6 separate regions of the Homo sapiens genome follow, and regions 1, 2, 3, 5 and 6 are each linked to region 4. Evidence: promoter capture Hi-C in 16 types of primary human blood cells and fetal thymus (Javierre and others, 2016). All regions are on one chromosome and are shown on one strand. Each heading gives the region's core, a stretch centred on a gene start or on the middle of the fragment in contact. The rest is flanking DNA. Distances are from core to core; before and after follow the strand shown. Region 1 holds the start of ACAT2 (acetyl-CoA acetyltransferase 2). Region 2 overlaps SOD2 (superoxide dismutase 2). Region 3 holds the start of AGPAT4 (1-acylglycerol-3-phosphate O-acyltransferase 4). Region 4 holds the start of ZBTB2 (zinc finger and BTB domain containing 2). Region 5 holds the start of IGF2R (insulin like growth factor 2 receptor). Region 6 holds the start of WTAP (WT1 associated protein).

What was found. Contacts are between HindIII fragments. The CHiCAGO score rates a contact against its expected background, and 5 or more counts as called.
Region 1: a contact is called between the fragment with the promoter of ACAT2 here and the fragment with the promoter of ZBTB2 in region 4, in 3 of 17 cell types (naive CD8 T cells, non-activated CD4 T cells and fetal thymus). The highest score is 9.9, in naive CD8 T cells.
Region 2: a contact is called between a fragment that was not itself captured here and the fragment with the promoter of ZBTB2 in region 4, in 1 of 17 cell types (activated CD4 T cells). The highest score is 5.3, in activated CD4 T cells.
Region 3: a contact is called between the fragment with the promoter of AGPAT4 here and the fragment with the promoter of ZBTB2 in region 4, in 1 of 17 cell types (total CD4 T cells). The highest score is 6.2, in total CD4 T cells.
Region 5: the fragment with the promoter of IGF2R here is called in contact with the fragment with the promoter of ZBTB2 in region 4 in 2 of 17 cell types (fetal thymus and naive CD4 T cells); the score reaches 6.0 in fetal thymus.
Region 6: the fragment with the promoter of WTAP here is called in contact with the fragment with the promoter of ZBTB2 in region 4 in 2 of 17 cell types (fetal thymus and total B cells); the score reaches 7.7 in fetal thymus.

The regions. Positions count from the first base shown.
Region 1 is chr6:159,759,733-159,764,012 of GRCh38, forward strand. It overlaps ACAT2 (acetyl-CoA acetyltransferase 2), which reads left to right and starts at 2,313. Exons shown (of 9, transcript NM_005891.3): 1 at 2,313-2,410; 2 at 3,187-3,321. The coding sequence starts at 2,356. SOD2-OT1 (SOD2 overlapping transcript 1) reads right to left here and starts at 2,600. Exons shown (of 2, transcript NR_037166.1): 1 at 2,262-2,600; 2 at 526-1,904. It also overlaps a transcript of SOD2 not described here. RefSeq lists enhancers at 1,566-1,625, 3,694-4,194 and silencers at 2,056-2,115, 2,136-2,285. The HindIII fragment of the contact is 5,525 bases long and covers 1,516-4,280 here.
Region 2 is chr6:159,687,622-159,692,025 of GRCh38, forward strand. SOD2 (superoxide dismutase 2) reads right to left here. Exons shown (of 5, transcript NM_000636.4): 3 at 505-621. Among named protein-coding and RNA genes, the nearest start is that of SOD2, 3.4 kb to the right of the region's middle. The HindIII fragment of the contact is 4,400 bases long and covers 1-3,480 here.
Region 3 is chr6:161,272,110-161,276,976 of GRCh38, forward strand. AGPAT4 (1-acylglycerol-3-phosphate O-acyltransferase 4) reads right to left here and starts at 1,952. Exons shown (of 9, transcript NM_020133.3): 1 at 1,829-1,952. The HindIII fragment of the contact is 1,627 bases long and covers 901-2,527 here.
Region 4 is chr6:151,389,190-151,393,642 of GRCh38, forward strand. ZBTB2 (zinc finger and BTB domain containing 2) reads right to left here and starts at 2,370. Exons shown (of 3, transcript NM_020861.3): 1 at 2,231-2,370. LOC124901232 (translation initiation factor IF-2-like) reads left to right here. Exons shown (of 3, transcript XM_047419613.1): 2 at 765-1,283; 3 at 1,516-4,453. The coding sequence ends at 2,415. RefSeq lists silencers at 932-1,861, 1,942-2,331, 2,342-2,401 and an enhancer at 2,383-3,255. The HindIII fragment of the contact is 3,903 bases long and covers 1-3,590 here.
Region 5 is chr6:159,966,177-159,970,766 of GRCh38, forward strand. It overlaps IGF2R (insulin like growth factor 2 receptor), which reads left to right and starts at 2,906. Exons shown (of 48, transcript NM_000876.4): 1 at 2,906-3,219. The coding sequence starts at 3,071. RefSeq lists silencers at 2,467-3,086, 3,097-3,376, 3,397-3,526. The HindIII fragment of the contact is 4,184 bases long and covers 2,299-4,590 here.
Region 6 is chr6:159,725,834-159,730,555 of GRCh38, forward strand. It overlaps WTAP (WT1 associated protein), which reads left to right and starts at 1,673. Exons shown (of 8, transcript NM_001270531.2): 1 at 1,673-1,870. It also overlaps a transcript of SOD2 not described here. RefSeq lists enhancers at 884-1,481, 962-1,051, 1,402-1,531, 1,482-2,079 and a silencer at 1,542-2,091. The HindIII fragment of the contact is 6,285 bases long and covers 1-3,539 here.

The sequences.
Region 1 (4,280 bases), core at 1,063-3,562, 8.4 Mb after region 4:
ATGAGTAGATAATCATATGAGTAGCTATAATGAGGACTCCTCAGGGGACAGATTCTGTTTGGCCACTCAGCAGAAGCATGCAATTACCTTCTCAAGATTGGCTCCTAAACTTACTCTAGATAGAGCCTTCAGGCAGGAAACTCTATATCCCTTGGCTCCAGAAGAATATATTCATACTCATTCAAATGTGCTAGGCACTGGCCATAAAGAATATTGGTGTTCATTCATAACTGCCTATAATGTGCTAGGAGCTGTGCATAAAGCAGTGTAACAGGATCATCTTGGAAAGCTTATGTAGTCAGTAGAGGAGACAGATAAACTAGGAATTACATGGTAAGTTGAAAGAGGAAGTTAGGGGTAAGATGCTGCACCAAATGCAGGAGATTGGAAGGTTTTTCTGGAAGAAGTGATGTTTAGGGGGAGTTTCAGAGGTAAATTTCTGGTTTGGTTAACAGAAGATAGTTTCACTGCTCACTGAGATTACAGAAGAAACAGGCTGGAAGAGTTTGGTTTCAATATGTCAAATTTGATGTGCTTATAGGAAATTTTATTTATTTGAGACAGTTTCTCTCTGTCGCTCAGGCTGGAGTGCAGTGGTGTGATCTCGGCTCACTGAAACCTCTGCCTCCTAGGTTCAAGCGATTTTCCCATGTCAGCCTCCCCAGTAGCTGGGATTACAGGCGCACGGCACCACGCCCGGCTAATTTTTCTATTTTATGGTAGAAACGGGATATCACCATGTTGGCCAGGCTGGTGTCAAACTGCTGACCTCAAATGATCCGCCCTCCTCGGCCTCCCAAAGTGCTGGGATTACAGGTGTGAGCCAAGGTGCCCGACCTGATGTGCTTGTAAGAATTTAAATGAAGAGGGTCAGTCAGCTTAGGAGACGAGGTTAGATGTAAGGATTTCAGACTTGTCAGTATACAGGTGGTGATTGATGCCGTAGGAATGACTGGTATTACCCAGGGAGCTGGTGCAAAGTAGGAGCCTTGGGGAACATGTTAAGGGGATGTGAGAGTAAGCCCACAAAGACTCAGAAGTGGCCAGGGAGTAAGGGGAAAATGGGATAGAATAGAGCAAAAGCCACGGGAGGCATTCCTTGAATTCCTTGGACTCAGATATGTTAGGGGACAGGAAACACATTGAAGACAACTGAAGAGACTTCAGTGTGCTGCTGAGTTCTTAGCAGAGTAGACAGCTGATTTCACCACTATTCCAGACCCTAAAGATTTCTCCTGAAATTGCACTGTTATGCAATTTTTTTCCTTCTCTATTGCCCCACCTCTGGGGCCTACACTCTTTACCTTCTCTGATTTATCTGACCCATCCGCATATCTCTGCAAAGTCTTAATGTAGGTTTCCAGGATTTAATGATTCTTTCAATCAACTTTAAAGTTCTTCAGGAAGATTCTCCAGGTCCGTCAACAGTTTTCCCCTTCATGACTTTGTGACAAAGCTTTCTTGTTCCACTATCCAGGTGTTCCCAACAAGTTGCTGTAACGGTGGCCCCTCATAAGCTTGCCTGGAAACCCTAGAAAGCTCAGAAAAATTATGAACTTTGCCCAGTAAGAGGCTGGGAAGTCAGAAAGGGTTTTAAACAAAACTGACCCCACTTGTTACATGCTCCTTTCACTGTCCAAACGTCAACCAAAGGAACTTTTGTGACGCTAAGACGCTCCCGGCGTCCTCACCCGTTCACAGCCAGAGTTGATCTTAGAAGGCAGGGGGCTCGCACCGAGACGCTCCTAGCAAGCCCCTCACGCGAGCGAATGACTGGCGCCAGGAGAAACGCATAGGACCTCCCGAAGCCGCCGAGAGCAAAAGGACCCATCAGAGCTGTGCTGAGACCCGCCGCGGGCCGGGCTCGCACTCGAGATTCTCGCCCGTGGGATTCCAGTCCTGAGCTGAACGAGAGATAAGTCTTTGTCACCCCCCAGTCTTTACTGTTTCGAGAAACCCTAAGATTTTTTAAAAAAAAGCCCAAGACGTCAAGTCGGGGAACTCCAACATTGGGGTGTCCAGAAACACTGGGGTTTCAGGCGCTCTGTAAATGCGTCCGAGGTCCGCGGTTCTGCCCGCAAGCCCAGACCCCGGCCTCACTTCCGCCCCGCGCCCCGCGCCCCGGCCTCACTTCCGCCCCGCGCCCCGCGCCCCGCGCCCCGCGCGCCTCCGCCCGCCCCTGCTCCGGCCTTGCGCCTGCGCACAGTGGGATGCGCGGGGAGGTGGTGCGCGGGGAGGTGGAGGGCGAGGGGCGGGGCTACCTCAGGTCCCGCCCGCGGCAGGCCTGTGGGCTGCGAGGAGGAGCTTTGCCTAGCTTGCAGGCAGCGCAGGGCAGACGGCGGCAGGAGAAGCAAGATGAATGCAGGCTCAGATCCTGTGGTCATCGTCTCGGCGGCGCGGACCATCATAGGTGAGTGGCCGGCGGGAGCCGCGCAGAGTCCGAGGCGCCTGCTGCTTCGGCAGGAGCGCCGAGGGCCGGACTTGTGTAGGAGAGGGGCGTATGTGGAGGAAGCCGGTCAGGCCAAGCCGCGAGGAGCCGCGGGATCCCTGGAACCCTGCGGCTCCCGCGTTCCCTGACCTGGTGCTACAGCCCCACCCTCTCCTCTCCCGATGTGCGCACTCCGTCCCTCGTGCTTGGATTGGCTCCCGGGGTAGAGCCATCGCGTGGCCTGCCTCTCCCATTGGTTGGCGTAGGGAGGTGTTCTCCTCCGGGGCCCCTGATTGGCCGGCTCCGGGAGGCGCCATCGGTAATGCCTGCGGCAGGGGCGGAACTGCTAGGTGGTCTGAGCCCGGCTTTGGGCTGGGGTCGGGCTGTCACACAATGGCTAGAAGTCGTGACTTCGTCTCCTTCGTGCCGCATGGTTTTCAACGCCCTTGACCCGCCGGTTCCTTTTGTTTGGGAAGCATGGGGTCGCATCCAGTCCTTCGGATTTGGGGAAATAGAAGGGCTACAGCGGCGTCCCTAGGCCGTTCTGGAGGTCGCCTGTCCAGCCCTCGGCTGCTGCGAGTTGTGGCACCCACCTTGACCTTTGCTCAGACCAGCAGGTGTAGGAACGTGTGGGAGGAGAGGGCACTGCCTCCTCGCGTGGCCTTGCCAAACAGGGTCATGAGGCTCCCCTGCTCGTAGGTGGTTCCCGTATTACCCGCAGGCTTGTGATGTCCACGCTCTCCGCCTTTCTATTGTAGGTTCCTTCAATGGTGCCTTAGCTGCTGTTCCTGTCCAGGACCTGGGCTCCACTGTCATCAAAGAAGTCTTGAAGAGGGCCACTGTGGCTCCGGAAGATGTGTCTGAGGTCATCTTTGGACATGTCTTGGCAGCAGGTAAGTCTCAGTGATTCCAGGAGAAGTCAGGCTTATTAGAAACAGCCCATAAACACACACACACACACACACTCTCACACACTCACACACTCTCTCACTCACTCAAGTTCTTGCCTCCTTGCTTTTGCTCAGAGTTCCCTCTGTTATGATTCCTCCTGTTGGCCCCCTTCTTCCAGCCCTGTCAGTAGCTTCTATCCAGCTTGAGACTCAGCTTCTTGGCCAGGCAGGGTGGCTCCCGCCTGTAATCCCAGCACTTTGGGAGGCGGAGGAGGAAGGATCACTTGAGTCCAGAAGTTTGAGACTAGCCTGGGCAACAAAGCAAGACCCCGTCTCTACAAAAAATAAAATAGCCAGGTATGATGGCCTGTGCCTCCCAGCTACTGGAGAGGCTGAGGTGGGAGGATCACTTGAGCCCAGGAGTTTGAGACTGCAGTGATTGTGTCACTGCACTCCGTCATGGGTGACAGAGTGAGACCCCTTCTCTAAACAAACAAAAAGACTTAGCTTCATTAATATGCTTTTTGTGAATGAACTTAGACCACTGACCTACACCACCTACACTGCCTTTTCTTTTCCTTTTTTTTTTTTTTTTTTTTTTTTTTTTGAGACGGAGTCTCTCTCTGTGGCCCAGGCTGGAGTGCAGTGGCGTGATCTCGGCTCACTGCAAGCTCCGTCTCCCGGTTTCACGCCATTCTCCTGCCTCAGCCTCCCGAGTAGCTGGGACTACAGGCGGCCCACTGCCTTTTCATTCTTACGAAGCAGGGCCGGCCGGGCCCGGTGGCTCACGCCTGTAATCCCAGCACTCTGGGAGGCCGAGGTGGGCGGATCATGAGGTCAGGAGATCAAGACCATCCTGGCTGACACGGTGAAACCCCGTTTCTACTAAAAATACAAAAAATTAGCCGGGTGTGGTGGCGGGCGCCTGTATTCCCAGCTACTTGGGAGGCTGAGACAGGAGA
Region 2 (4,404 bases), core at 31-2,530, 8.3 Mb after region 4:
TTCTCCATTCCTACTTGTGTCCTTTTGAAAGTTACAACTTTTATCATACTCGTTGTTATGAAAAATATGCCACTATGATACCTCTGGTAAGAATAAGGTAACTTAGGCCAGGCACGGTGGCTCATGCCTGTAATCCCAGCACTTTGGGAGGCCAAGGTGGGCAGATCATGAGGTCAGGAGTTCAAGACCAGCCTGGCCAACATGGTGAATGAAACCTCATCTCTACTAAAAATGCAAAAATTAGCCAGGCGTGGTGGCGGGCGCCTGTAATCCCAGCTACTTGGGAGGCTGAGGCAGGAGAATCACTTGAACCCAGGAAGCGGAGGTTGCAGTGAGCCAAGACTGCGCCACTGTACTCCAGCCTGGGCAACAAGAGCAAAACTCTTGTCTCAAAAAAACAACAACAAAAAAAACAAAAAACAAGTATAAGGTAACTTCAGTAAATCAACAATCGATTCCTACTGTGCACAAAATGTAGATAAGGGTGCACCAATATATACCAACCTTTGGGTTCTCCACCACCGTTAGGGCTGAGGTTTGTCCAGAAAATGCTATGATTGATATGACCACCACCATTGAACTTCAGTGCAGGCTGAAGAGCTATCTGGGCTGTAACATCTCCTGAAAAGTTAAAATGCAAACACATTTTTTTGTAACTCCTACTTTTTCAACCACTGTATACATTATATTTTTTTCTTTGTAAGCTATTAGATAATGGGACCAGCTTATCTATAACATCCGTTTGTCCTAAAATTCAGCACCCCCCCGCCCCAAAATTATTTGTCCCAGACATGCTGAACAACTGATGAAGGACCTAGCAGAGGTGGAAAAGCTAGAAAATTCACTCCTGGCTGCTAGGCTCAGGGATCTCTTAGATAGAAGAGATTTTAGGAAATGAAACACCAAAGAGGACAATCAAAATAATAGAATGCTAAAATGTATGGCTCAACATACAGACTGTACAGAAAACCTTCAACTCTCACTTTCAAGACAGACGACGATTCATTGGGAAATATCTCCAAGTCACATTAACAAGAAACTCAACATACTCAAAATTGAACTCCTGATGTTCTACCCCAAACTTACTCCTCCTATTGTCCTCCACGTCTCAGTAAATGCCAGCTCTGTCCCTCAGGACATCCTTGGGAACCTGATGTCATTTTTGACTCCTCTCCCTTCACCCCACATCCAATCCACCAGCATATCCATTAGCAAAGCCAGCTCTACCTTTAAAATACATCCAATCTATATAAAAGCACACAGAGAAAAATAAAAGAAAAAAATAAAACACAAGCAGAACCTAATCCCTTCTCCCTAACTCTACTGCCACCTCATTGGGACAGAGGACCAGTATTTCTCACTGCACTGGTGCCACTATCCCCTCAGTTTTGGGGGGTGGGGGTGGGCCTTGCCCCCTCCAAAGGCTCCCCTTCTCACTGGAGCGAACCCTAGGTGTTTACACTCAGCTACTCTTACTACCAAGAGGCGCTGCACTTGACCCCGTCATTGAGCACGTGCTCACGCAGCTGCAGCCTCACTGGCCTTTTTGCACTCACATGACCAACTTGGATGTTCCCCTCAAGGCTAGCTGAGCACTGCTGCCTCTGCTGAACACTCTTCCCCAAGACAGTCTCATGCTGCGTTCCTGTTCCTCCTTCAAGTCTCCACTGAAACATCAACCCCATCAGTGAAGCCTTCTCTAGCCACCATACATGAATTAGCAACTCCCTGCCACCCCTCCCAGACCCTTTACTCCTTCTCAATAGGCCCTGTAACTCCTGGCATACTGCATGGGTACCTTGCCAAATAAGTAGGCAAAATAAAATAGTCTTTTCTATGCCTTCAAGAAGCTACAGACTAAATGAACTATTAATATTAGAAAAAAATGGAAATCCTCTTGTTTAATAAATATTTTGTGCATATTATCCACAAGATACCAAGAGAAGCAAAGTAAAGGACACAGAGACCCACTGAGAGCTTTGCTCTCAAGGAGCTTACATTTTGGAAAAAGTTCTCAACTGCTGTTCTGAAAGTGTACGTTAAGAACATATGTCTGGGCCGGGTGCGGTGGCTCACGCCTGTAATCTCAGCACTTTGGGAAGCCGAGGCGGGCAGCTCTCTTCAGGTCAGGATTTCAAGACCGGCCTGGCCAACATGGTGAAACCCTGTCTTCACTAAAAATACAGAAATTAGCCAGGTATGGTGGCGCGTGCCTATAATCCCAGCTACTCAGGAGCATGAGGCAGGAGAATGGCTTGAACCCAGGAGGCAGAGGTTGCAGTGAACCAAGAACACGCCACTGCACTCCAGCCTGGGCGACAGGGCAATACTCCGTCACAGAAAAAAAAAAAGAAAGAGAAAGAAAAAAACATACATACAAGGCCAGGTGAGGTGGCTCACGCCTGTAATCCCAGCACTTTGGGAGGCTGAGATGGGCGGATCACTTGAGGTCAGGAGTTCCAGACCAGCCTGGACGACATGGAAAAACCCTGTCTCTACTAAAAAACCCACAAAAAGTAGCCAGGCGTGGTGGCGTACGCCTGTAATCCCAGCTACTCAGGAGGCTGAGGCAGGAGAATTGCTTGAACCCAGGAGACGGAGGTTGTAGTGAGCCGAGATCACATCACTGCACTCCAACCTGCGGGACAGACTGAGATTCCGTCAAAAAAAAAAAAAAAAAAAAAAGTATGTCTGACTAGGCACGGTGGCTCACACCTGTAATCCCAGCACTCTGGAAGGCCGAGGTGCGTGGATAGGGGAGCCCAGGAATTCAAGAGCAGCCTGGGCAACATAGTGTGACCCCGTCTGTTTTTTTTAGACAGAATTAAAAAAAAAATTTTTAAAAGGAACATACGTAGACAATGCTGCTTTCTGAAACAAGCTCCAGTTGTTTAGCGATTCAGAAAGGAGAGAACCAACTGATATCTGAATACACAGCTAATCTCAAAGGGTTTTTTAAAGACACCAACTTTTTTTTTCCTTTGTTAGGTTTACAAACAGTTTTTTATAGATCTGTGTTTCCCTTATTAAATTTTCTTGAGAGTCACTCTAAAAATAGATGTAACTTTTCTATTGTTTTTTAATAAATCAATAGTAACTGAATTTTTAAAATGGGAAAGATACATGCTTAATGAGAGATAATTTAATAATCTTAACATCTTACAGTTTGCTTACTCATTTTAAAATTAATAAAAATTGAGGGCTTAATATCTGCTTTTAAGAACACTTTTCTGAAATTCAACATTTTATTTGGTTTCAGTTTAGTTTTTGCCTCAAATAATAATAAAAGTCAAATGCTTTTTGTTGAAAAATATTCATATTAGTCAGTTAAATGTGATGAGATTATGACATTGTTTTATCTTTTTTCCCCAAGTTTTCAAACATGAAAATCTTTTTAATAATTTTTAAAATATGTTTAAGTAAAAGAAAGCTCTGCAGGTACTCAATCACTTATAAACAATATAGTACAATACAATAAAAAGCTTTTTTCCAGTGGGTTGTATTACATAAGTAAGGCTCTGATTCCACAAGTAAAGGACTGAAATTAAGTTGTTTTTAAAATACTGAAGAGAAAGGTTCCTGGTGTCAGATGTTGCCTTACAGGAAGTACTTTCACAACTGGGGTATTCCCCAGTCTCTCCCCATTACATGTTTCCCAAATTTGTTATTTCCTAAATCACGGGGCCTTTTCCCGTAATTCAAGGTTCGTCTGTCTCAAGTAAATCTTCCAGAATGTGGTAACTTCCTCCTCTTTTAATCATTTACTTCAAACACAATCAGGCTGAAATACTGCATTTTTCCACTAGATGCCTCCAGTCAACAAGATGTGACTGTCTAAAAATTACTCAACAAATTTCATAACCCCGAAATTCAAAACATTTAAGGAAAAGTAAACATTTTTTACTACGTAGCTTACCAAGCAATACAGAGAGTCTAAAAAACATGACTATCGATTATCTTCCTTGTGCAAACCACTAACGAATAAATTAAAAAGACAATACTATTTTGTAAAAAACGTTAAAACATAACATTCCCATACACACCCCCAAAAGGCACAGACTCAAAAAGTCCACATACCCCTGGTTTTATCAACCGAGCTCTTGAGAAAAAAAAAAAAAGTTAACAACATATATTTTAATTGCATTACAAATATGAGTAAATAGTAAATAAAAACAAGCCTGTTTCAGTTTCCCACTAAAGGGCTATTTTCCTTGTGAACTTTGACCCCTAAGGGAAATCAAGAAAAGTATCAAGTCTAAAGATCCTGAACTGTTCCACAGTTAGGTTACTGCTTTTTTGGTAACGCACACCACAACGGTGTGCCTCCTCCTCTCCCACCTGAAGTCAAGTGGGCTCAGTGAAGTTTCACCTGCAGGGTAGCTGGGGATGCAGGGAGTCTCCAAG
Region 3 (4,867 bases), core at 702-3,201, 9.9 Mb after region 4:
ATTTTCAGGTAACTTTTCTACCTGAATTACTTAGGACCTCTGGATTTATAGCAGATTTGATAAGACATAGATGATAGCATATTTAGATAAGGATCACAGCAAACAGAACCTCACTGAAACCACCCATTCTTCCTGCTTCCACATGGCAGGGTTGCTCAAGGTTTATAAGTAATGATTTTGGCTTTAGCAGCCGGAAGGTATGAGGGCTAAGTGACCTTCACACATGTTTATCTTAAATTATAGATAATTTTAAGAGTCATGAATGGGATTACTACTTATCTATTTTATAAAAGCTAATTATTTGGGATGCCCATCAGAAGAATGGTATCCCTTATCAAACGCTTCCTTAGACGTACTGAATAAAAGCATCAGTTTAGCCGGTACCTGTTAAGAGGCTATGTCTTTCTAAGAGATGTGTTATTTGATTCTAATTATAATTAACTTTGCTTATTACTAAGTAGATAATAATTTTCTCATTTCATATTTTTTCTGAATAACAGTTTTTCTCCCCATAGAGAATATTCAGAAGATGGAATCCTTTTAACGTAGAACTCAAGATGTGCCCTGTTCTCCCTGCCCGCCTCCCATTTCCCTAAACACACACACACACACACACACACACAAACACACACATTCTCCCTTCTCTCAAGATACTTTTTTTCCAACTGAGAGTCGTTGACTAATCACAGATGAGTTAATCCTTCCACAGTTTTGAAAAAGTCTAGCAACCCTCACCTTGAAGAGAGTGAATAGCGTGGCTAATCCATCTAAGAACAATGCACGAAAACGAAAAACGGAGAATCCTGCCCGGCAGTTAATTTGTTACTCATACTTGTTGAACTTAAGATTTGGAGCTAAATAAGTGCAGATGAGAGCAAAGACCCATCTTTTAAATATTTAAGCTTTTAGGCAAACCTGGGCAGGCAATATCACATTTATCAGTGCGAATTCTCCAATGCTCTCTAAAACTTTATTTCAATGATCTCACCTCCTGTAAGGAATTAATTCCCCCTTAGCTTGACCACAGGATCAATATCTTATCTTAAGAAGTGTTTAGGTTTTCTAAAAAAAGACCAGACACTGAAGACTTACATAAACATCAAAGCATTCTTTTTTTAATTCCTCGATATGGAGAAATTCATAGGCCGAAAATTAGGTAAATAGAGAGGTAATTACCAATGCCTGTTTCCTTGACAACTCCCCTCCCCCACCCCTCCTGTGATAGGGAAAAACCAAAATGAAAGTGAGGAGGGGTAGCCACAAGCCATGCTGGATTTTAGCAAACCAAAGCAAGAAGCAGAGCAGAAAGCTGCAAACTAGACACAAAATACAAATAAATCAATGTATATCGGGGCTGCATATTGTGTAGTATTTTTGTGGTTGCCATAGAAACGTCAGCGACGGAAGAACATGTTGCATGACACAAAAGAGAGCAATATGTAATAGGAACATTCCCCCCACCACCACCCCCCGCCCAGCTTCGTCTATAGCAGAGAAAATGCTTTAGCCCCGGGAGGGGGCTGGGTGGGTGGGTAAATGAAGCCAGGAACAGCAGCTTGAAATCACAGCCCAGAAAGGGACGCTCACCCGGCCCAGCACAAAGCGAGGGTCCTTTTGTACCAGCAGAGCCTCTCTTCGCCTCCCTCCAGGCGCCCCCTGCACCTTTCCCCCGCCCGCCTTGCACTCCCCCCCCGCCCCCGGAGCCTACCCCTTCCAGAGGTCCTAAGGAAATCCAGCCCAGGAGAGAAAAATATGCTGGGAAGAGGAATGCAAACATCAGCCACACCCAGCGGGGAAGGTGCCTGCGAACGGCACCAGGACCACATACCTCCTTCCTGGCAGCCTTTGGCACATGGACTTAGAAACCAGAAGCTGAGATGGAGCCGGCTGGGTTCAGAAATTGCCACTAGTTTATAAGAGCTGTAAGTCAGCCAACACTGGAAAGAAAAAGCGAGACTCCACCCATGGGGTGGACCCTTCAGGAAGAAAAAAAAAAAAAAAGTGGTCCTCAGCTGACGTCTCTCCCCACCCATGTCACTTCCTTTTAAAGCTACAAGTTAGCAGTTGCCGAGAGGGAAGAGCGAGCTGGTGTAATATGAGTCACTCCCTTCCCCTTCCAATTAGTGTAAGGCAGTGCTTCAGTTGGCTTCACGTTTGAAATCGCTTTTGAAATCTGGCTCGGGAAGCTGCCAGGATAAAAAAAAAATGAAAGCCCCCTGGAAGTGGCCTTGCTTTCTCTCCCCTTTCTCCCAAATCCTGTTGCATCCCTGCGCCCTAACGGCTCCTCTAACCTCAACCCAGACTCCGGCTCCGTCTGTGTTGCAACCTGGAAATTGTCCTCAGTTGGCTCATTTTTAATTCAGCAAGCGTAGGATCAATATGCCCACCCTCAAAACTCTCCCCTCACCTCTCCTCGGTCCGCTGTGCTGGAAGGAGATTGCGTTGCACTCAGAAGAGTCCAAATCATCTTAAACAAAATAAGCCTCAGCACTCAAGAGATTGAGATGTTATGAAGTGGGATGAAAGAAGCTTGGAGGTCGATTGATGTATTTTCTGTTTTCAAACCTTAGCACCATGGTTGATTACCACTGCACAGGCGTGCACACACGTACTGTCGCATGCTCACATGCACGTGGCATTTACACAGGTGTATCAGAGAGGGTCTGGGCAGACCTTTATAGTAAAAGTGTCTTCACAATTTTTAAAAAGGGTGGGCTGTTGAAAGTCCAGAAATGCCAGGATCTAGAAAATTATTTCAATTTCAAAATACTGAGGTGTATTCCTTTCAAATGTCCACTATTACAGCCATTGTCAAAATAATATTTAACTATTTACTTGACTCCTGGGTTAACCTTGTTCTTTAGATGTTTATAATCTATAAAGGAAAAATACATGTGCTCACAAATAGCCCAAGCACATTGCAGAATTACTAACAGCTATGCAAGTGTCAAAACCAGTGTGTCATGAAGACAGAATAGAAAGTGCTTTTTTGATTGCGATGGGGGAAGGCATTGATCATTCAGGAAACAGGGTTTGGAGTGGGTCCTATGGGAGGTGGCATTTTTCTTGTCTGTGATGAGAGACGGGGAGAGTGAAGCAGAATGTGGTGGAAGAGAAAGGATATGTGAGGCAAACAAAAAAAGGATCAGAACAGAAACCCATTTGTAGCAATAACTTGTTTTAATATCCATGTGAAAATAAATTTGACCACAGAGTAATGCTTATAAAAGATTTTTATAAAAAGTTCCTTGTAGTCATCATCTCTCGTAACTTTTCGAACTATGTTTTACGACCCATGTGCTTCTAGATTTGGTGGAAACTTGAGTTTTTCAAAGTGTTTTTCAAGTAGAGTTACACTGTTTTTCACGGTTGAATTCTGAATGGTAATTTATTTCAAAACCTACAAATTGCATAAATTCCTGATAATGTTATAAGTACAGTCAGTGATTTCAGTGGAAATGATAGGAAATTTAAAATTTGGACAATTGTAACTTTTATCCTGATCTCAGTACTTTAACATCCTCATTCCATTATTACATTACAATTATTATTATACTTATTATTGCTAACACTTTGCCTGTCTAGACAATGTTGCTCAGTCCCAGTTATCTCAGATATAGCTGAGAAATATGGGAGAAAAAGTTACTATTTCTAAAAATTTAACATAGAAATTCAAAATTCATGGATTAAATCCTATGCTTTTTTTTTTGAGACAGAGTCTTGCTCTGTTGCCCAGGCTGGAGTGCAATGATACGATCTCAGCTCACTGCAACCTCCACCTCCTGTGTTCAAGCAATTCTCGTGCTGCAGCCTCCCAAATAGCTGGGATTACAGACATACACTACCACACCCAGCTGATTTTTTGTGTTTTTGGTTGAGACGAAGTTTCACCATGTTGCCCAGGCTGGTCTCTAACTCCTGACCTCAGGTGATCCACCTCCACCTCCCAAAGTGCTGTGATTACAGGCAGGGAGTCACCACGCCCAGCCCTATGCACATTATTGAGTGCCATTTAGAGTCTATCCTTATGTGCCCTTATTTAGCTATTTCTATCTATACAAGGAATTGTGAATATTTCCAGGTCACAACGTAACAACTCAGTTCAATGTATGTTTATTGAGCATCCATGTTAGTTGCTGAAGATACAAAAACACAGATAAGACATGGAAATGGCCCCAAAGTGCTCAAAGTCTTAGAAGGGAAAGCGAAATGTAAACAGTTAAGACACAATGGAGGCAATGATTGACATTTGTACAAGATTCAGAGGTGGTTCGAGAATGGGAAAAGGAGAGGGAGGATACATCTACATAGTTTCTTAGCTAACAGTGGACTCTAAAAGGGGTGGAGGTGGACAGTATACTCATCCGTGAGATGGTAAGAAATAAATACTGGCAGTTGGAGAGAGGAGAAAAAAATTGAAAAGGAGACACAAATCATAAATTGGTAACCTAAAAAAGATATATAAGTGGTCCGTAAACAAAGAGGCAACCTTACATAAAAATACAAGTCACAAAGTAAGGATGTTATTTCTTTGCCTAGTCACTTGTCCAACACTCAAAAAGCTAGAACGTGCAGTGCAGAGAATGCAATGCCATGGGTTCTCTCTTCTGCTGGTGATGGCAAATTGATACAATCTCTGGAATTCAATTAAAGAAGATTTTTCATGAGCCTTTAAAATGTTCATACCCCTTAATCCAATAATTCGACTCAGAATAATTTATACCAAGGACATAAGCAGAGATAAATTCAAAGATTTGGGAACATGTATATTCATCAGAGCCATTTATAATAGTAAAGTCTGGAAACCATCTGAGTGTTTGAAGTAGCAGGTTAGCTATGGAAATGATGTAATCTTCATATGATGAAA
Region 4 (4,453 bases), core at 1,120-3,619:
GGCGGGAGGATCACTTGAGCCCAGAAGTTCAAGACCGTCTCGGGCAACATAGCGAGATCCCTGCCTCTTACTAAAAGGAAAAAAGAAAAAAGAAAAAAATGACCTTTTAACAGTTTGAAAACATCCTGGATACACAACAAGATCATTCAAAATGCAGTGGAATTTACCTTACCAATTTATAATTTTGGTTTGTGATAAATCAGTCAAATGAGAATTAAAATGGCACAGTCCCAATTCTCTATTAAACGTTCAGGGTACTCCCACACTAAAACGCTAGTGGTGTGTACAACTCGCCCTGGTGCTCCAACGGGGTTGGCATAGATGGATGATTTACATTAGCAAGGACAGGGCAGCGCGTTTAAGCAAACCCAGAGACCCCCTGGAGTTCTGATAATTCTGACCTTCTTTATGCTTTATTTTACTAAAACAATACCCTGATAAAATGAATAGAATCAAGGCTCACAAACTCAGTGGACCCATTGTATGATGAAAGAGCTAATGAACAATGCAGCTGGGGGAGGCGGGGAGCGAGAGCCGGGTTATATCCCCAAGGCATAATTAGGAGTTCACGTATTCGGGTGGAAGTTCCTGCAGTAAAAGGCGTAGCTGCAGCTTCTCCCGGCCCAGGCACTCGCCTGCTCTGCTACCCTCGCTTCTTTATTGCCTCTTTTACTACCAGCTAAAAGCGGCAAAACCCAGCTTCCTTTGCAGCTTCTGGCTAAAAAGTTCTCTCTTGCGGCTTTGTTTAAACAAGAAGGGTTTAGAGGTTTCGCTACACCGAGAAAACGACGCCGGCCCCGGGAAGCAGCCTCCCCGCCTTGGAGTCCGGTTGGGGCGTGAGGGCCGCGCGGGTCCCACGCCCCAAGGCTAAGCAGCCGAAAGCACAGCGCGCTCGGGGCCAAACCGGGCTGTATCGCAGGCGCAGATGGCGCGTCGGGCGGAAGCTGGAGGCCGCCGGCTCAACACGCTCCGTACCCGGGACTGGGGCCCGGCCTGCAGCCTCAGCGAGCAGGCGACAAGGGCGGCGCCACAGAGGCCGACGCGTCCCCCGCCCGCCTGAGCGCGCCGCAACAGCCACCTCGTCCCACCCGCCCCGGGGCGGGGCCGGGGGCGCGGCGCCGGGGCCCTCTGGCCCCCTCCGGTCTCGCCGGCCCCGCCCCCTCCCTGTCCCCGTCCCCGAGGGGCTGAGGGGGAGGGAGGGGCGACGCACTCCGGCCGCGTTGCACGCTCGCCGCTTCCCTCAGTCCCGCGTGCGCGCGCGCGCTCGCCCCAAGTCCCGCGGAGTTTAACACAATGCCGACGCCTACGCCGTGCGCAACGCCCCGGCCGGCGCAACAGCCCCGGCGCCGGGGGCGGGGGTGGCCCAGACAGGGAGAGAGGGAGAGGGATGAGCGCGCGCGAGAGCCGGAGACAGCGCGAGACCCGAGGAGGCCGGAAGCGCGCGTGCGCGCCCCCGCCCGCGAGCGGGAGGCGGAGCCGCAGCAGTAGCGGCAGCAGCTGTAGGAGCCGCTGCAGCTGGGAGAAGCGCCAGAGAGGCCGGGCCTGCTCCGGTCGGACCGGATCCCTCCCCTCCCCCTCCCTCCTCCCTCCCCTCCCCCAAACCCACTTCCGCAGCTCGCGGCCTTGCCGCCGAAGCAGCAGCGGCGGCAGCAGCAGGAGGCGGCGGCGAGGCGTCGGAAGGATTACGCACCTGACGGGCCCGCCTCTGAGGGCTCCAGCGCGGGACGCTCACCGGCCGCCGCCGCCCAGGGCGCACTTCGCGGTGGCGGCGGGAAGGGAGGGACCGGCCACGGGGAACCGAACGCGAATCGCCCCCCTCCCCTTCCTCCCTCCCACCCTCCCTCCGATCCGCCGCCCGCCCTCTCGGCTTCCGTCCCCTCCCCCTCCCACAAAACCCCGGATGGAGGCGCCGCCGACTCGCCGCCGCCTGGCTCCGGGGGATGGTTTTGTCAAGCGGCCAGAGCCCCGGCGCCAGGCGCAGCCGCCGCCGCCCCCGCGAGGCGCCCCTGCCCTCGCTTCCCAGAACCGGGTCCCCGAGTGGCCCGGGCCTTCCGCCTGCCTGCACCCGTAGCCCTGGTACGAGGGTCATTCGTCGTCTTTGTTGCCACCGCCTCTGCCGGAACCGTTTGCGAGCTCCGGTGGCCCCCGCCCCCCCACCGCCTTCCCGGACCCTGGGCTGGGGGTGGCACGTGGGCACCGGCCCCGGGAGGCGGAGGCGGTGCGCGCTTACCTGTCGCCGGTGCTGCTGCGGCGGGGGGTGTGGAGGAGGCGCCTCTGGGCAGCCTCGGCCGTGCTGTCCTCCCCGCCGCCGCCGCCTCTGCCTCTCGCTGCTGCTGCTGCTGCTGCCGCCGCGGTCGGTGTCTCCGGCGCGGCGGCGGCGGCGGCGGCGGGGCTTTTCCTGTCCGGTTACGTTAAGGTCACATGACCGAGAGAGCGGAGAGACTAGTGCAAAGAGGCTGCGAGCGGCTCCCGCCGGGGGGGAGAGGCGGCGAGAGAGCAGTGGCGGCAAGAGCCCCCTCCGCCCCCCCCCCAGCCGCTCCCCTCCCCCCGCCCGCCTCCGCCTCCTGCTGCTCTGCCGCCGCCGCCGCCGCCTGCAGCACTCCACTGCCGCTCCCACCCAGGCTCCGCGCTCTGCTCCAGCCAAACTTCTGCAGACCATGTGCAGCCGAGGCGAGGAAACTTCTCTCCACCTATTGGGGCTGGAGGCCTGAGTCACAAGCCCCTTGTTTACATAAAGTGTTTAGGTAGCACAAGTCCTTGAGATGCTCGGGGTAGAGATGGAGAGCCACTGCTCGTATCCTTCTGCCGGCTTCTGCTTGAGATCTCTTGGCCTTTACCCTTGTCCCTTGACTTTTCGTGTTTGTTTTAATCTTTAAGACTTGAAATGGAGTGGCCTTTAGAACCGGGGAGATACTGTAAACCAGCAGTATCTTTGTGTCACCAATGGTAACTGAAAGTCATGCTGAAGTACAGATTCCTGTAGCGTGCACAGAGGCAGAGGTGCTTCCTTTACCTTGCAGATGAGTTGAGCGGCGTAAGATGTTTCTGTTAGGGTTGAATTTCATGGTTATTTCAGCAACGATTTTCGTTTTTGAAGTTTTGGCCCCCCCAAAAATGAAAGTCTGCAACGCATGTTTGTTAAGAGAACAGTTTATTCTCCTGTTAGGTTTTGGTCTTTGAGGTATGGATTCCAGAGTTGGCTATTCTGTTAGATTTAGAGGTGTGGAAAATCTTTTAACGGGGAGATCCTGAAACACGGAAACATGGCAGGGAAGTTAGAATTTCCTGATGGTCATTTTTAACATTTTAAAGTTTACTTTTTGGTTGTTGCCATTTTTCTAGAATCCGTGTCTTTTTTGGGGAAATACAGTCCTTTGAGGACTAGAATTTAATGATTTCTTTACACATCTAGGATTTTTTGAGATTTAGAAAGGATATGGCTTTATTCCTAAGGAAGTGGAGGCAGCAGTTTCTAGGATACTCTGGTTTCAAGGCATGCTAACTTGGTTGTGATGTCTAACCCATTTTGGTTTACACAGTCTGACCACTAGCACAATGCCTGGCACATAGTTTACAAATCATTTAAGGCAAGCTTACCATCTTAAGACAATTTAATACATAGAAGTGTCCCTCCTAAAAATCTGAGTTTGATTTAGAAATCCAGTTATACCTGCAGGTACTGATGACTAATTCCTTCTTTGAAGACAAAATAAGCAGCTGTGTAGCTTCAGTGGCTCTCAAATGGATAATAGATTCAGTGTATACTCGCTTTGAACTTTCCTGTTTTTTGATCAGCTAGATAAATGACTTTAGTGGGTAAATGTCTGCCTCCAAAACCAAATTCTGACCCTGATCTAAGTATTCTACTGCACCGCTGTCACTGGAATATCAAAGTTGGCCTTCAGACTGGTGCCTGGTTCCTTGGATTGGCTTGAGTATTGAGGTCTGTCTCATCTTACTAGGGAACTAAAATGATGTTGATTGTTTTGTAGAGAATTGTAATTAGAGATCTGTAGGTTCTTAATTCTTTTGGAATTCCATTCTGAAAATTTTCAACCTTATGGTGTTGGTGGAGTGCTCATGTGAAGAGTGAAACTGACTTAAGAATAAAAGAAAAAGTGGGCAAAACTAATGCTAAACTTGAGACCATTGGGCAGAAATTTGCCTGTGTGTGTAGAGTAATTGGTCTTGAGTCAAAGTAACTATGCTTATTTTTAACATCACTGAATATTTTCTAGCGTTACACTCTATATAGGCTTGTAGAAATAAACCCAGGGGTAAGCCCAGAAATTGAATATCAGTCCTAAAGAAAGCCTATCAAGAGCATCCTATTCTCTTTAAGAGCTGCTATTCGAATTTAGGACTGGGCTGGTTTGCTGCTCATTCTCTCGAGGCATAGGCAGCCACACTTGAATTTTGCCAAGTATGCAGATAATTCCAACTTGTAGTCAGG
Region 5 (4,590 bases), core at 1,656-4,155, 8.6 Mb after region 4:
CTTCCATGTGTATGAGAATCTCCTGGAGAGCTTGCTAGAGCAATCTCCTGGTGCCCATCTCCAGAGATTTTCATTCAATAGGTTGAGGCAGGACCCATGAAATGGCATTTCTAACAAGCTGGTAGGTGACACAAAAGTTGCTTGTCTAAGGACCGCACTTTTGAAAACCACTGATCTAGAACAGAGGTTGGCAAGCTTTTTCTGCGGAGGGCCATATGGTAAAATATGTTAGCATTTTCAGGTCATACAGTCTCTGTTGCAACGACTCAACTGTGTCATTGCAGGCAAAAGCAGCCCTAGATAATACATAAACACATGGGTGTGGCCGTATTCCCACAAAACTTTATTTACAAAACAGCTGCCTTACCACATTTGACCCACAGGTTATTGCTTGCTACATGGATTTAGAGTAGCACTTCCACTTTTTTTCTCTTTTTTTTTTTGGAGGAGAGTTGTTTTTTCAGCGCATTAATATTTTGCAATAGTCCAGTTCAGTTTTCTTGTCATATGTTTCACAGTTTGAATTTGATTGTTTTATCTCAATTAGATTAAGTTGAACTTCTTGGCAAGACTACTTGTGATAGTGTGTACGGTAGGGAATAACTGTGAAAGACTTTGAAATGGACCAAAAATATTAGTGGTCAACTGTAATGGAATGCTAGCTGTTTAGTACAGTCTTTTGGGTTATCTGATTCTATGGGGTCTTGTGTCTGCCACTGTCTTTGAGGTATTTTACAACTCTGTAAATTGTAGACTACTGATGGTAATATACACGATTTTTGTCTTTAGAAATGCAAATTGTGTCTATTGCGTACGCAGCTGTTTTTTGACCTATGGTTACTGACCAATTTTCCATCTATAGACAACCTTATTTCAGCATTCCTAACTGCTTGAATATTTGTTGGATTCTCCTTGGATTTTCCTTTGAACCAGCTGTGACATGTTACCGGTTCTCACATTAATGAATGAGCTAAGGAATACCTTTGATACATGTTCATTCTACATCTGAGTCATGATTATACCATCTTTTAAATATTACCCTTTAGCATTTTTTATTGCATCACTTTAGAAAGCAGAAAATGCTAGTTTTTTAAAAATTGGTGATACTAGTTTTAATTACTTGATTAAGGTGGTTCTACCAGATCTTTCCATTGTGAAGAGGTATTTTGTGTTTTTTAAGGAAGTATACTTTGAAGGTGATACTTTGAGACAAAGAGAATATTCCGCTTCACAATAATTTTTCACCAGATGGTTTTAGTATTTACTGATGGTCTTTGCCTGTATCCATTATAACACTGGAGTTGCAAAACACAAACCCTTTTTCTTTTTTTTTTTTTTTGAGATGGAATCTCGCTCTGTTTCCCAGGCTGGAGTGCAGTGGCACGATCTCTGCTCACTGCAACCTCTGCCTCCTGGGTTCAAGCGATTCTCCTGCCTCAGCCTCCCGAGTAGCTGGGACTACAGGCGTGTGCCACCACGCCCGGTTAATTTTTTGTATTTTTAGTAGAGATGGGATTTCACTGTGTTAGCCAGGATGGTCTCGATCTCCTGACCTTGTGATCCGCCCGCCTTGGCCTCCCAAAGTGCTGGGTTTACAGTCGCGAGCCACCGCGCCCGGTCACCACAAACCCTTTTTCGACGTCCACAGTTTACACCTGAGCTCTCCCTTTGACCCACTACAACACTTTCTTTTCTTGGGCAATATATTAATAGCACGGTGGTTATGTCACAGGCCTGTGACTGGCTTGGGCTCAAACCCGGGCTTTTTCACTTACTAGCTGCAAGACTAACTAGTTATTTAATTTCTCCATTCCTCACTTTCCTTATCTGCAAAACGGATGCAATAAAGGCACCCCCTCTTACAGGACTGTTAGGATTAAATGAGCTAAATCACAGTGTCCGAACACTTCAGTACTTCGTACATAATTACTTGCTCAAGAAATGTTAGCTATTATTGGGTCATGATTATTTATATGTGTTTGAATTCCAGCTTTGCCACATCCCAGAGTGTCTTTGAGTAAGTCACTGAGTATCCTTGTGCCTCAATTCCTCATCTATAAGTAGGTTCCCATCTCATAGGTTTTTAAAGATTCATGCTTACATGCTTAGCAGTGTCTGGTATGGAATAAGCACTAAAAAAGATGAGCTTTTATGATGATGATGATTACTATTTTCAGTCATGATTATTTTGTATATTTACTCTAAAAGAAAGTGAATTTTTTTAGTTCAAGACTTTTAGATTCATCGTTCTACTTTCATTGTGGCTAGCTCATGGCCATCCACGTAGTGAATTAATAAAGCTTTGTTGAGTGGCACTTGCTTGACAGCGACACTTTTGTCCACTCTTTCACCTTGCTGGATTTGTGCTGCCTTCCTTGCTGTAGGAAGCCCACGCTTGGGAAATAACATTCCCACAGAAGGTCTGAGAGGCTCTGACGGGCCAAGGTTGTAAACCCCCATGATTTGACTCCACGGGCAGTTAAAGTGTGTTCCCACCCCCCACGGATCCGCTGCCACTAGGCTGTGCGAAGGCATTTACCTCCCTGGCACTTTGATCCAAGTTCCCTATTTTCCCCTACTGGTCGATCGAGGTTGGGAACAGTTGCTCTAACCTGGGAAGCACCCGCCACGATCCAGCAGGGCGCGGTGGGAGGGGAAACTGAGGCCCGGCTAGGCACCCCCGCCGCGCCCAGCCCGCCGAGAGGCTCAGGCCCCGGGAGGCACCTGGAGCCTGCGCCCCGCCCGCGCCGCTTCCTGTCCCGCGCGCTGCGCTCACGTGACCCGGGCCTGGGAGGAGCCGGGGCGGGCGGGGGTCACCTGAACAAGGGAGTCACGTGAGCGGGGGGCGGGGGTGGGGGGGCGGTGCCGGGCGGCTGTCACGTGACGCGGTTCCGGGGCCGCCGCTGCCGCTGTCGCTGTCGCCGAGCCCAGTCGAGCCGCGCTCACCTCGGGCTCCCGCTCCGTCTCCACCTCCGCCTTTGCCCTGGCGGCGCGACCCCGTCCCGGGCGCGGCCCCCAGCAGTCGCGCGCCGTTAGCCTCGCGCCCGCCGCGCAGTCCGGGCCCGGCGCGATGGGGGCCGCCGCCGGCCGGAGCCCCCACCTGGGGCCCGCGCCCGCCCGCCGCCCGCAGCGCTCTCTGCTCCTGCTGCAGCTGCTGCTGCTCGTCGCTGCCCCGGGGTCCACGCAGGCCCAGGCCGCCCCGTTCCCCGAGCTGTGCAGGTGGGTGGCCCGCCCGGACGCAGGCTCCGCTCGCGGTGCCCGGGGTGAGCGGCCGGCGTGGGGGGCGGGGAGCGCTCGAGGAGCTCCTGGGGTCTCCAAGTCGCCTCCGTTCCGCGCCGGGGTCCGCCCCGTTCCCGAGGGAAAGTTGCCTGCGTGGTGTCCGCGAGTCCCGCCGGGTCCCGTGCGCAGGCGGGGGGCGCGGGGGCACACGCGGTCGTGGCGGTCCTGGAGCCCCGCGTCCGGCCACTTGTGGCTGTCGCTGAGTCGGGGGTGGCTTTGTGCGGAGCGGTCGCCCCGGCCCTTGGGGTCGGCGCCTGCCCTCGCGCGGCCGGGCGTCCGGGAAAGTTGGAGGCAGGAACTCCAGTTTGCTTTGTTCCCGCTGCGCGTTTGCATCAGAGTTTCGCCAGCGGGGCACCGGTGAGGCCCCTCGGTGTGGAGAGGCTCACCGGGGCGTTGGAGCCCGCAGGAATGGTCCTGGAGTTGAGTGTTTGTGGTTTCATTTGCTGATTGATTTCCCCCCGTGGGCTCATTTTCTCTTTAAAGAATATATATATATATATATTTTTAGCAGGCGGTGACTTTTGTCTTCTTTAGATTGGGGGCAGGGGGTGTCGTCCAGTGTGAGCTTTCAAGACTTGACCCTTCACTTCTCTGAGCCCAACTTCCTGCCTGGTTGCTCACATGATGTCATTGTCTCCGGGGCGGATTATTCTAGTGGATCTTGCTCTGGGAACCATGATTGTATAACCCATCAGTCCCATCGAGGGCTGTTCACCTCGCGCAACTGCTAGCAGTCCAGGGCCTGGGGAACTTCGAATTTCAGGAATTTTCTGACCATCCTTTTCTGGACTGTTTAGGATGATGGAAAATTCAGCTTTTGTTTATTTTTTTAAACTTTGGTAAAAAGGAAGCAGGATGAAAAGTTTTGAACAGACAACAGTTTCTCCCTGTTACTGTTACTTTTACAAGTTACTTTTACAAGTTACTTTTCAGAGTGAAACAAAGTTGAGCCTACTTTGGGCTGAACTTGGAGTTTGTGGTAGGGTTTATGGGGGGGGTTCTTATTTTTCCCATGCATCAGAGATAGTTTTATTAGCACCCCTGTGTTCAGAACATGCAGAAATTAGTCTAAGGAGGGTGAGGCTGATCTCACGATAGAAACTCTTTGGAAAGGCCCATATTTTTTATGCTCCCTTTTTTGGAAGGGGAAGGGTGGATGGAGGGAGAGTTTGTGACACTAGTTTAAAGACCAGTTAGCTACCCTAAGATACATAGTTACTCCAGTAACTAGTATGATACAGAGAAATGGTGGCAGCTTAAACGAGGTCAGGCTGAGAACAACATTTAGAGGAAGGCATTTTGGAATAATGG
Region 6 (4,722 bases), core at 423-2,922, 8.3 Mb after region 4:
GTGAATACTTACTACACTTAAATATTTAAGTGAATACTTAATACAACCTGAGACTCATTCCAAAGCAACACACGATTATTTCCTGAATCTTTTTAATGGTTGCATTGTGTTCTACTGTATGGATGCACCATTCCCAATCAGTTCCCTATTAACGGATATTTGGGTTATCCCTAACTTTTGCTATGACAAATAGCACTGCAATAACCTTGTATACCTATTGTTTCCATGTGTGGAGCTGCACCTTCAGAATAAGGTTAGGGTTAGAAGTATAACTGCAAGGTATAAGAATAAACACAAGTAATTTTGTACTCCGTGGAACTTGAACCATTTTTCCACTCCCACCAGGAAAGGTAATTTCAACGTGTATTTCCATTGTAAGTGAGGTGGAGCGACTTTCTATGTTTAAAGACCATTACGGTATTTTTTCTGAGAATCATCTGTTCATGTCCTTCCCCATTTTCTCCTTTGGCTTTTGCACTTTTTGTTTTCAATTTTTGAGAGCTCTTGTGATACGAGTTGCAAAGATTTTCTCCAGACCGATCTGATTCACTGGAAATATACTACGACCATCTGGAATGTACTTTAATCTTATCCTAATAAATCACCTTACTACAAGACACTCCTTTGGGGATGAACAGGTTTGATAAAGCCGGCTAAGGACAGACCAATCAAAAGAATTACGTGCTCTTCTAGTAAGTGTTTAGAGACTGTTTCACGTTCTCCAGGTAACACCGCCATTACTCGGCGGTCCAGATGGCAGTCTTACTTCAGGGAGTCTACTCCACTTGCAGGACCTCTTTGATTGAGTTCACTAAACCTCACAGGGCCGCCTTCCCCGTGTTCCAGTTAGCAAGGGGCCCTCAACGCCGCGGACACAGCGCAACCTCCGACGCCAGAGAACAATAGCTCCTCGATGCGTCTCCAGAGATGTCAAGGAGGAACGAACCCAGCGGCCAGGAGACTGCGCCTCACGACTGATGAGAGGGAAGGCATCGGTTTCTAAGTTCTCAAAACTTACAGGTGAGCTTCTGCTAAGAGTAAACGCCCGCGGCTCGCCGCCCACGGCCTCTCTCTTGAGGTGGCACCTGGTCCTCCGACACGCGGAAGCATCACGGATGAGCGTCACGAACACAGAGCGGCCAATCACGCGCCGCCTTCGCCCAGATCCCTCCGCACGAGGCAGCCCCGCAGCCGCAGGTGGCCCCGGCGAGTACTTCCACCTTCCCTTCCCGTGATGCCCTGGGGCTGACCTCCGACCTCGCTGGCCCGCCCCTCCCCTCGGCCGCTTCCCTTACTGAGCTTGCTGAGCTCCGGGGCCCGCGGAGCTCGCGCCAGGCTCCTGGGAAAGGACGGGGAGTGTTACCGGGGAGCAGCTGCTCCATTGTGCCTCGAGGCCCCGATCGGGCTAGGCCGACGGCCTCCCTCCCTTCACCTTTCCTCTCCTGGCGGGGTTCGGCGGCGGGCGAGTGACTGCGGCCACGCCTGAAAGGCGACTCTCCTGTGAGTGGGCCAGAAGGCGAACATGGCGGAGCGGGGAGGCTGGCGGGAGGCGGGAGGCGGGAGGCGGGAGGCAGTGGCGCTGGCCTGCGGCGCGTTCGGACCGGCTGTGGGGCGGGGCAGGGCGGAGCGGAGCCGTGCGGCGGGGCGGGGCCGGGCGGCGGGGCCTGGTTTCCTCCCTCAGCGCCATTTTGTGGCAGCGAGACCCACAAATAAAGGGGAGCGCAGGGGTTGCGGCGGGACTAGGAGCGCGGCGGGGCCGGCGGCAGAGCTGTCCGGCTGCGCGGTGGCCCGGGGGGCCCGGGCGGCAGGGCAAGCAGCGCGGCCTCGGCCTATGCGACCGGTGGCGCCGGCGCGGCTTCTGCCTGGAGAGGTAGGCGCGGGCCGGCTGGCGGGAGCGGACGCGGGGGACCTCCGGGGCCTGAGGGCTGATGCGCAGCCGCCCCCGGCGGGTAAGGGGCGGGCAGGGCCCGAAAGGCCACACGGGCCTGGTGCGGCACCGGTCTCTCGTGAGCCGCTCTACCTTCCCGCCTGCGGGGAACACTTCCGCCGCTTCGAGGCCATTTTATCTCTGTCCTCCGTCCCCAAGGCCCGGGTTGAGAGGGGTGCTCTGGCGGCCGGAGAGACCGGCCACTCACGGAGGCCGGAGGATGCCCTCCCCGGGCTGAGCGGCGGCGCTCGTTTTTTCCTCGCCTCGGGGTCGCCCCCTTCACCTCCCTTGGGCCTCTCCTGAGGACCTGGCGGCACTAACGAGTTCAGCAAGGAAAAAAAGAAACATTCGTTCCCTACATTTCATGTCACGCAGTAGGATGTTACTACGTTCTCTTGTAGACTTCCATTTTTAAATGAGTATAAGCATTCTGAGGAAAGAAACTGAATTATTGCAGATTTTTGTGAAATCCAAGTCTTACCTTGGATCCCTGTGAGACAGTTACTAGATTTTTTTTTCACCGTTTTTCATAAGTCTGTGTACACGTAATGGAAAAGCCCGAGTTCTTGTTTTGATAAGAAAGTCACTTGGTTGTTTGATCCCAAAGGATTAGCTTAACATTATCAAGGACTAGCATAACTGTGATTATGTAAAAAAAACAAAACAAAACAAAAAAACTATTATTTAGTCTGGTAGGGAAATACTTCTATGAGTATGTTACAATTGGAAGTTGTATTTGTGCCTATTTTATCTAGTTTTAGTTAATTCCATTGCTTCGGAAGATAAGTGGACGTCATAGATCCATCGCAAGTTCTCGTTTTTTGGATTTTAAAATTTTGACCATTAAGTTTTCTACGATAGATAAACATGTTGTGGACATTTAAAACCGTAATTTAAAACTATGAGCGAAAAATCTTTTCAAGATGGATACATTTTAATTCATTCAAGTAGCATCTGATTAGCCAAGTCGGGGAAAGATTGCAGTCCGCAAAGCTGGCTTGTGATAAGGTTGAGGTTACATTTTAAGGGTTTGGGTAGGTGTGTTTCTTACAGTGCTTTTATATGTTAAGGTATCTTAAGCAGACACATGGTTTAAAAGTTCAGTATTTTTAGTACTTTTTCATTGGCAGAATTTGGACAAGCTACCAGAATTGCTAACTCCTAAAGGATAAAAGTAATAATAATAGTGTGTCCCAGGCACTGCTTATTTTTACATGGCTCTTTTATGTCTAGCTTTTCCAATTCAACGTTGAGTCATGTTTGCTGAAAATATTTTTGTGTATTGTTTGTCAGAAATAAGCTGGTAGAGATGAAACACAATGTGTAAAAAGCCCTGTGATGTGGAGATGAGCATTGTCACAATTTGTACAGTACATTAAAGCGTTCAAGGTCTCTTATGGTCTTGTATGTAGTATTGAATCCCCTTGAATATATTGTTTAGCAGTTTTGATCATTATGTATTTGCTTCTTGCTCCTCAAAATTGTACGTTAGTTAGTAGGTCCTTCAGCAAAAGAAGACTGAAGATAGTATTTTGGTTTTATTCTTGTTTTTAATTTTTTTAGTTGTCTCCAACTTTTCTGCCTCTAAATATTTTGCTTCTTGTAGTTACTAAGCTTAACACAGAAAAACTTTTCAGTATCTCCACAATAGTAAACTTCATTGTGTATTGTGTATAACAAGATGTTCCATCTGACTAAAATATATTGCTGTAAATATTTTCTGCCTTTGAAGATGTAGTTAATAGAATTTAATCTTTTCTAAGTGCACATTGAAGTTGCCTTTTATGTTCATATTATGTTCATATTTTATTTGAAAAATCTATAGCATTTTTATTGTGCTGAAAGCATTAATATTTGCAGCACTTTGTGAGACAGGCAAAATTATCTTTTTGCTGACTTGGAAACTGCAAGAGTTAAAAGACTTGCTTGGAATCACACATGGCAGATAGAGGATAAGGAAAAGATGGCCTTTCAGTTCCTCATCAGTACCTTGCTACTACAGTGTCTGCAGATTGGTGTCTTACATTCAGCTATGATTTGTTCGCCAAGGTACCGTGTCTTCTTACTGAAGTTGTTTTGGCTGGCGCTTGCCTCCGTTCAGAGGGAACTGAGTTACCTAACTTTATGATGCTAAGAGCCAGGAAGGTACTGGGATCTGGGATGCTAGGCACCTAACCAGTCTAGACTGAACTCCATACTAAGCTGTTTTTCTGTGTTAAGGCATCAAGAGTAGATGGTGGTCCTGATTTTCTGAGATATATTATCTCTGAATTATCTACATAAATAACTGAAACTTTTATGTAATTTTAAAACTAGTCAATCATGTTACCACCCTTTTGAGGGGCACCAAATTTGAGACCCTTACCCCCAATTTATTAATTAATAGCTGTTTTAATCACCTAATAGCTGATCACCTAATGACTAACAGTCATTTTCATCCTGGAAAATGGGAACTAACTTTGACTTTGAAAAGTGCTGTTATTAAATGTGTGATTCATAAGAACTGAACATATTTTCTTTATTATTTTCCTTCAGGATTCAACTTTAATTGACTCCAAATGATGTTATGGTCATTCTGTTTTTCTGATACGAGAATAGATTGTTCTGAGAACCTAGAATATTCATTGCCTTTATGAATCTAGAATTGACTTTAAATTTAGGTTATTGTGTTTGTCATTTGCGCTAAAAAAAAAATTGCCCTGGGGAATACCAAACTTCTCGGTACATTCGTGTGGTGTGAAAGTCAAAATTGCCAATTAGGTTCTATTTTGACCAAATAGTTGAATGTTGTAGAC